Linked DNA regions of Homo sapiens: all the other regions are linked to region 2. The links are contacts of gene promoters, found by promoter capture Hi-C in human tissues and cell types (Jung and others, 2019). All regions are on one chromosome and are shown on one strand. Each heading gives the region's core, a stretch centred on a gene start or on the middle of the fragment in contact. The rest is flanking DNA. Distances are from core to core; before and after follow the strand shown. Region 1 has its middle 11 kb from the start of BTNL9. Region 2 holds the start of ZFP62 (ZFP62 zinc finger protein). Region 3 has its middle 20 kb from the start of BTNL3.

The links. The method cuts DNA at HindIII sites, captures the fragments that hold promoters and counts their contacts. A contact is called where the count stands out against the background at its distance.
Region 1: a fragment that was not itself captured here is called in contact with the fragment with the promoter of ZFP62 in region 2 in 1 of the 25 tissues and cell types used here (pancreas).
Region 3: a fragment that was not itself captured here is called in contact with the fragment with the promoter of ZFP62 in region 2 in 2 of the 25 tissues and cell types used here (heart left ventricle and small bowel).

The regions. Positions count from the first base shown.
Region 1 is chr5:181,027,999-181,030,698 of GRCh38, forward strand. No RefSeq gene overlaps it. Among named protein-coding and RNA genes, the nearest start is that of BTNL9, 11 kb to the right of the region's middle. The HindIII fragment of the contact is 8,395 bases long and covers 1-2,700 here.
Region 2 is chr5:180,860,020-180,862,719 of GRCh38, forward strand. ZFP62 (ZFP62 zinc finger protein) reads right to left here and starts at 1,257. Exons shown (of 2, transcript NM_001172638.2): 1 at 1,200-1,257. The coding sequence starts at 1,200. RefSeq lists enhancers at 837-916, 1,394-2,300 and a silencer at 1,017-1,466. The HindIII fragment of the contact is 15,115 bases long and covers 1-2,700 here.
Region 3 is chr5:181,007,358-181,010,057 of GRCh38, forward strand. It overlaps the pseudogene RNU6-1036P. Among named protein-coding and RNA genes, the nearest start is that of BTNL3, 20 kb to the left of the region's middle. The HindIII fragment of the contact is 4,188 bases long and covers 1-2,700 here.

The sequences.
Region 1 (2,700 bases), core at 1-2,500, 170 kb after region 2:
CAGCTCAACTTGGAGTGGGAAGGTTTTCCCCTGGAGTCAGGCCACTCAGCGTCCTGGGCTCATTTCCAACTGCCCCAGCAAAACTCTGCATCACTGTGCTTCTGCTGGTCACTGGCCTTCCGCGCCAGTTTCTCCAGACGTCCACCCCACCTGTGTGTCTGCCTGCTGGGGTCTGGGAGGTTTATAGGCACAGGTTGGGGGCGTGGCAGGCCAGGGTGGTCTTGGGAAACGCAACATGTGGGCAGGAAACGCCTGTCCACACCTAGATCCTTAGGGGTGGAGCCCTAGTCACGCCCTCCTCTACCCAGCGCTTCCCTTCCCCCTTCCGTATCATTTAAAGGGACCATGCTCTTCCCTTCCCAGCACTTCCCTTCAGTCTCAATAGCGGGAGACTTCAGCATCACGCTCTTAGCAATGGCCAGATCATCAGACAGGATACAAACAAAGAAACATCAGATTTAAACCACACACTAGACTAAATGAACCTATCAGACATTTACAGAACGTGCCGCTCAAGGCCGGGCGCGGTGGTGCATGCCTATAATCCCAGCACTTTGGGAGGCTGAGGCAGGCGGATCATTAGAGCCCAGGAGTTAGAGACAAACCTGGCCAACATGGCGAAACCCCGTCTCTACTAAAAATACAAAAATCAGTTGGGCATGGTGGCGCACTGCTGTCATCCCAGTTACTTGAGTGGCTGAGGCACGAGAATCGCCTGAACTTGAAAGATGGAGGTTGCAGCGAGCCAAGATCGCACCACTGCACTCCACCATGGACGACAAAGCAAGATTCTGTCTCAAACAAACAGACAAAAAAATGACACTCAAAAGCTGCAGAATACACATCTGTCTCAATAGCACATGGAACATTCTCCTGAACAGATCATATGTTAGGCCACAAAACAAAGCTTTAACAAATTTAAGATCTAAATCATTTCAAGTATATTTTCTAACCACAATGGTATAAAACTAGAAGTCAACATCAGGAGGAAATTTGTAAACTTTGTAAATACATAGAAATTAAATAGCATGCTCCTCAACAACCAATGGATCAATTAAAAAATTAAAAAAAAATTTAAACAGGTAAAATTGAAAACACAACATACGAAAACCTTTGAGATGCAGTTCTAAGCAGTTCTAAGAGGGAAGTTTATAGCAACAAACACGTATATTAGCCATGTGTGGTGGCTCACGCCTATAATTGTAGCAGTTTGGGAGAGAGAGGCAGATGGATCACTTGGGGCCAGGTGTCTGAGACCAGCCCAGCCAACACGGCAAAACCCTATCTCTACTAAAAATACAAAAATTAGCTGGGCATGGTGGCACATGCCTGTAATCCCAGCTACTTGGGAGGCTGAGGCACAAGAATCCCTTGAACCTGGGAGGCGGAGCTTGCAGTGAGCCAAGATCCCCCCACTGCACTCCGGCCTGGGCAACAGAGTGAGACTCTGACTCAAACAAACAAACAAACAAACAAAAAACCCACATTAAAAAAAGAAGAAAGACCACAAATAAACAACCTAATATGCACCACAAGGAACTAGAAAAATAAAAACAAACTAAATCCCAAATTAGCAGCAGAAAAGAAATAATTGCTATTAGAGCAGAAATAAGTGAAATAGAGACCAAAAATACAAAAGGTCAATGAAACAAAGGCTTAGTTTTTTGAAAACATAAACAAAATCAACATACCTTTGGCAAGACAAATACAAAAAAAAGAGAGAAGACTAAAATAAATAAAATCAGGGATGAAAAGGGAGACATTACAATTGATACCACAGAAATACAAAGAATCATGACAGAGTGTTATAAAAAATTGTATGCTAAAAATTGAATAACCTAGAAGAAATGGATAAATTCCTGAACACACAACCAAGACAGAATAATGAAAAAATAGAAAATCTGAGTAGACCAATAATGAGTGAGGAAATTGAATCAGTAATAAAAAAAAATCTTGCATCCAAAAACAAACAAACAAAAAAGCCCAAGACTAATGGTTTCATGGGTGAAATGTCTTTTTTTCACAGAAATAGAAAAAATATCCTAAAATGTATATGGAACCACAAAAGACAAAACCCAAGGCAATCTTGAGCAAATAGAACCAAGGTGAAGGCATCCCAATAATTGATTTCAAACTGTATTACAAAATGATGGTAATTCATCATGGTCCTGGCATAAAAATAGACATGTAGACCAATGGAACAGAATAGAGAGCCCAGAAACAAACCCATGATGTTATGGTCAATTTATTTTGGACAAAGGTGCCAAGAACACATATCAAAAAAACAACCAGTCCCTTTAATAAAGGCTATTAGGAAATCTGAATACCCACATGCAAAATAATAATAATAATAATAATTAGACCCCTGTCTCACATCATATATCAAAATTAACTCCAAATGGGTTAAAGTTTAATTATAAGATCTGAAACTATAAAACTACTAGAAGAAAACATAGAGGAAAACTCCACAACATTGGTCTGGGAAATGATACTTTGGGTATGACCTCAAAAGCATAGGATAACCCAATTTAAAAGTGGGGAAAGGACTTGAATAAATGTTTCTCAAAAGAAGACATACAAATGGCCAAGTACATGAAAAAATGCTAATCCTCGTTAATCATCAAATAAATGCAAATTAAGACAACAATGAGATATCACTTTCTAGCTGTTTGAATGGTTATTTTCAAAGAAATGAAAGAT
Region 2 (2,700 bases), core at 7-2,506:
ATGGCCCATCCAATACTTACCACAGCTCTGTAAAACAAAACGAAACAAAACACAACTTCTGTGTTCTGACATGTAGAGACCAGTAAGATAAAGTGAAAGAATCAAGGAGTTAGAAGGATTTCTATCACCTGTGTGAAAAAAGGGGGAACTAACTAGTTATATTTGCCAGTATTTGCAGAAATTCGGAAAAGATACAAAGGAACAAAAGTGGTTACCTAAGAGGGTAGGGCCTAGGAAGATACCTAAGCGGGATGGGAAGAAATCTTTCACTGGTAACTTTTTATATTTTTAATATCCCAGCCATATGAATATATTACATATTTCATATTATTATTTTTTTTAAGCCTTGAGCTTTCACAAAGAAATGCTCCTGCTGGCCAACTACTTTAAATGTCTTAGAGCAGCACACCCAGCCCTGGCATTCCCCAGTGATCTTTTCCGTCCCACCCCTGGGTTCCCGCAGGCTGTCCCCTGGGTCTAAGAAACTCTTCGACCTTCCTCTCCCTACCTAGTTAACTCCTTTTCTGCTTGCAGGAACACGCGGCAGGTCGCCTCCTCCCCGGTGCACCCGTCTGTATGCAGGTGCGCTTCCCCAGATGAGGGCTAGGACGCACCTCCGGGGTCTCTATTCACACCTGCAGCGGGAGCTTATCATCATCACTCACCGACCAAAAAAAAAAAAGAAAAAAAGGTGGTGGGGTGGAGCGGAGGGGAAGAAGGTCGAATCAGATCACCCCTAGAGGTCTCTCTGCCCTCGCAATCACTCTCAAGTCCTAGAGTACCAAACTTAACTGCAGAGGGAGCACGAAATGGTGGGTATTTTGAAGCGCTAATTTTTAGGGATCCCCTCCCATCCAAAACAGGGATGAATAGTTGAGGAACACCGGAGCGGGGCCCTGGCCCTTCTCGGAACGTTGAGCAGACCTAACATGACGCTGGTCCGTTCAAACGTCGCAGTTGTGGCCCACACAGAGCCCAGTCTGTTCCAGGGGCGCGCCCTGCACCCCTCTGCCTGCCCGAGGTCTTCCCTCCCCTCCGCTCCCCAGAAACGCACCCACTGAGACATGTGCGGGGAGGGGGCACGCTTACTCCCACATCCCGCCCGAGACCCGCGGAGCAGCCAAGACCCGGCCAAAAAGGGGAGGGCGTGGCAGGCAAGGGCCGGGGGCGGGAGCGCGGGCGGCCGCGGACTCACGTACTGGCTGTGGCGGCGCCGCGGGAACCCGGCCGCCAGCGGGACAAAAGCGCGGACCGCACGGCCGGAAGAACCCGCGCCGGCCCTGGGGCACTTCCGCGCCCTCTCTGGGACGCTGGAGGACTGACTCGATGGTCCGGGCCGACGGCGCCGGCGGGAGGGAGGGAGGGGAGCGCCTCCTCGGCTATTTATTGAGGACCAGCTGCAGGGCGCGCGCTCCAGGCGCGGCCAGGAGGCCGTGGGCGGGGCTTTCTGTTTCCGTGCCCATTAGCTTCTGGGGTAGGCTGGGGGAGGGGCACAGGTAATAAAGTAAATACCTGCCTACCTGGTTCCTGAACACGTGATTCATTGCCAGGTGTGGGTGCGGGGACGTTCCCGGAAGTGGGGGCCTGGCGGGAAATGGGGGAATCCGGGAGGGGCGCAGGACAGCGCTGGGCTGGGGACCCATTGCCTTCTCAGCTGGTTGGGGGCTGGCCCGAGAGCACCAGCCCTTCCTGGTCGTCAGCACCAGAAGCGCCCCCGGTTAGGCACTGGGGATGCGGAGTGGGAGCGCGCCCCTGGAGCCGTCCCTGGGACCGGGCCACGCTCCCACCCGGGGCGCCAGCTTGGCAGCGACCTCGCCCCCTGCCCACCCCACCGCCGGTGTCGGCTTCCAAACCCAGGGCCTAAAATGACTTTGAAGACCTTTTTTTTTTTTTTAAATTAATGTTTGTGGGTACATAGTAGGTGTCCCTATTTGTCGAGTACGTGAGATATCTTGATACAGACAGGAATGCAATGCGTAATAATCATATCAGGGTTAATGGCGTGTCCATCACTTCAAGCATTTATCCTTTGTGTTACAAGCAATCAAATTATATTCTTATTTTTAAATATACAACTAAGTTATTGGCTATAGTCAGCCTTTTTTAAAAACAGCAACATCTAAATATTTTTCATATTAAGTTTAAATAATTGCAAAGGGTATATTTTTGGCATGCTGTTAATATTAAGAACAAAATTGCTTTCAAGTGTATCCAATGGAATCTAAATCCCTGAAGATTTGGTATTATCCACTTTTAACAGTCATAAGTTTTACATCTTTTAGGGTTTTTTTCCTTGAACTTTTATGTCCCTCACCGGCTTTTTATTCTACTGTAAAAATATTTTCATTCTATGTGCCTCATTGAATTTTATCCTAGTGTAAAATAGTTCTATGCATTGTTTTATTGTTTATTGTTTATCCTAGCATATATGTCCGTAACGAAAGTAGATTACATTTTTTCTTAGTGTTATTTTCTGGATTATTAGCAAAATTATATAAATATTTCAAAATGTTTACTGTTAATTCTTAGACAAAAAGTGAAGTGCTTTGGAAGCACAACTTGTAATGAGATGGATTTTGTTTTACAGCTCAAATTATTTATATTATTTGAATGAATTTTACATATTGCTGGGGTGAGCCGGTGTTTGGCATCAGCTCGACGCCTATTTTTCATTTTTATACATGTGGGTGCTGAGACACT
Region 3 (2,700 bases), core at 168-2,667, 150 kb after region 2:
CAAATTCATGAAGTGTTCCATATTTTAAATTTAATTTTATGATAAAGAAAAACATTGGAGGGCTGGGCGTGGTGGCTCACGCCTGTAATCCCAGCACTTTGGGAGGCCGAGGTGGGTGGATCACAAGGTCAGGAGACTGAGACCATCCTGGCTAACATGATGAAACCCCGTCTCTACTAAAAATACAAAAAATTAGCTGGGCATGGTGGTGGACACCTGTAGTCCCAGCTACTCGGGAGGCTGAGGCAGGAGAATGGCGTGAACCCAGGGGGCGGAGCTTGCAGTGAGCCGAGATGGCGCCACTGCACTCCAACCTGGGCAACAGAGCGAGACTCCGTCTCAAAAAAAAAAAAAAAAGAAAAGAAAAGAAAAGAAAAACATGGGAAGGATCTGGCAAGATGTCTGAATAGGAACGCTCTGGCCTGCCAGCGAGACCAATGCAGAAGGCAGGGGATTTCTGCATTTCCAACTGAGGTACCCTGTTCATCTCATTGGGACTGGTTAGGCAGTGGGTGCAGCCCATGGAAGGCAGGCAGAAGCAGGGCGGGGTGTTGCCTCAACCCAGGAAGTGCAAGGAGTGGGGGGCCTCCCTCCACCAGCCAAGGGAAGCTGTGAGGGACTGTGCTATCTGGCCCAGACACTACGCGTTTCCCACGGTTTTTGCAATCCACAGAACAGGAGAGTCCCTCATGTGACTACACCACCAGGGCCCTGGGTTTCAAGCACAAAACTGGGTGGCTGTTTGGGCAGACACTGAGCCAGCTGCAGGAGTGTTTTTTTATACCCTAGTGGCGCCTGGAACCACAGCAAGACAGAACTGTTCACCCCCTGGAAAGGGGGCTGAAGCTAGGGAGCCAAGTGGGCTCACTCAGCGGGTCCCACTCCCACGGAGCCCAGCAAGCTAAGAGCCACTGGCTTGAAATTCCTGCTGCCAGCACAGTAGTCTGGAGCTGACCTGGAGCTTGGTTGGGGGAGGGGCATCTGTCATTACTGGGGCTTGAATAGGTGGTTTTCCCCTGACAGTGCTAAGGAGGCCTGGAAGTTCGGACTGGGCGGAACTCAACACAGCACGGCAAAGAGGCTGTGGCCAGACTGCCTCTCTAGATTCCTCCTCACTGGGCAGGGCATCTCTGAAAGAAAGGCAGCAGTCCCAGTCAGGGGCTTATAGATAAAAGTCCCAACTCCCTTGGACAGAGCACCTGGGGGAAGGGGCGGCTGTGGGTGCAGCTTCAGTGGACTTAAACGTTCCTGCCTGCTGGCTCTGCAGAGAGCAGCAGATGCTGACAAGGAGGGCTCTCCCAGCACAGCACTCGAGCTCTGCTAAGGGACAGACTGCCTCCTCAAGTGGGTCCCTGACCCCTGTGTCACCTGACGGGGAGAGACCTCCCAACAGGGGTTGACAGACACCTCATACAGGAGAGCTCTGGTTGGCATCAGGCTGGTGCCCCTCTAAGATGAAGCTTCCAGAGGAAGGAGCAGGCAGCAATCTTTGCTGTTCTGCAGCCTCCACTGGTTATACCCAGGCAAATAGGGTCTGGAGTGGACCTCCAGCAAACTGCAGCAGACCTGCAGAAAAGGGGTCTGACTGTTAGAAGAAAAACTAACAAACAGAAAGCAGTAACATCAACATCAACAAAAGGATCCCCACACAAAAACCCCAACCACAGGTCATCAGCCTCAAAGATCAAAGGTAGATAAATCCACAAAGATGAGGAAAAACCAGCTTAAAAATGCTGGAAATTTCAAAAATCAGAATGCCTCTTCCCCAAATGATCATAACTCCTGTCTAGTAAGGGCACAAAACTGGACAGAAAATGAGTTTGAAAGAATTGCCAAATTGACAGAAGTAGGCTTCAGCATATGGGTAATAACAAACTCCTCTGAGGTAAGGGAGCATGTTCTAGCCAAATGCAAGGAAGCTAAGAACGTTGACAAGGTTATAGGAATGGCTAACTAGGATAACCAGTTTAGAGGAGAACATAAATGACCTCATGGAGCTGAAAAAGACAGCACGAGAACTTCGTGAAGCATACACAAGTATCAATAGCCGAATCGATCAAGAGGAAGAAAGGATGTGAGAGACTGAAGAACAACTTACTGAAATAGGGCATGAAGACAAGATTAGAGAAAAAGAATGAAAAGGAACAAACAAAGCCTCCAAGAAATATGGGAGTATGTGAAAAGACCAAACCTATGATTGATCAGGGTCCCTGAAAGTGATGGGGAGAATGGAACCAAGTTGGAAAACACACTTCAGAATATTACCCAGGAGAACTTCCCCAACCTAGCAAGACAGGCCAACATTCAAATTCAGGAAATACAGAGAATGCCACAAAGATACTCCTCGAGAAGAGCAACCCCAAGACACATAATCGTCAGATTCACCAAGGTTGAAATGAAGGAAAAAATGTTAAGGTCAGCCAGAGAGAAGGGTCAGGTTACCTACAAAGGGAAGCCCATCAGATGAACAGTGGATCTCTCTGCAGAAACCCTAGAAGCCAGAAGAGAGTGAGGGCCAATATTCAACATTCTTAAAAAAATTTTCAACCCAGAATTCCATATCCAGCCAAACTAAGCTTCATAAATGAGGGAGAAATATAGTCCTTTACAGACAAGCAAATGCTGAGGGATTTTGTCACCACCAATCCTGCCCTACAAGAGCTCCTGAAGGAAGCACTAAATATGGAAAGGAACAACTGG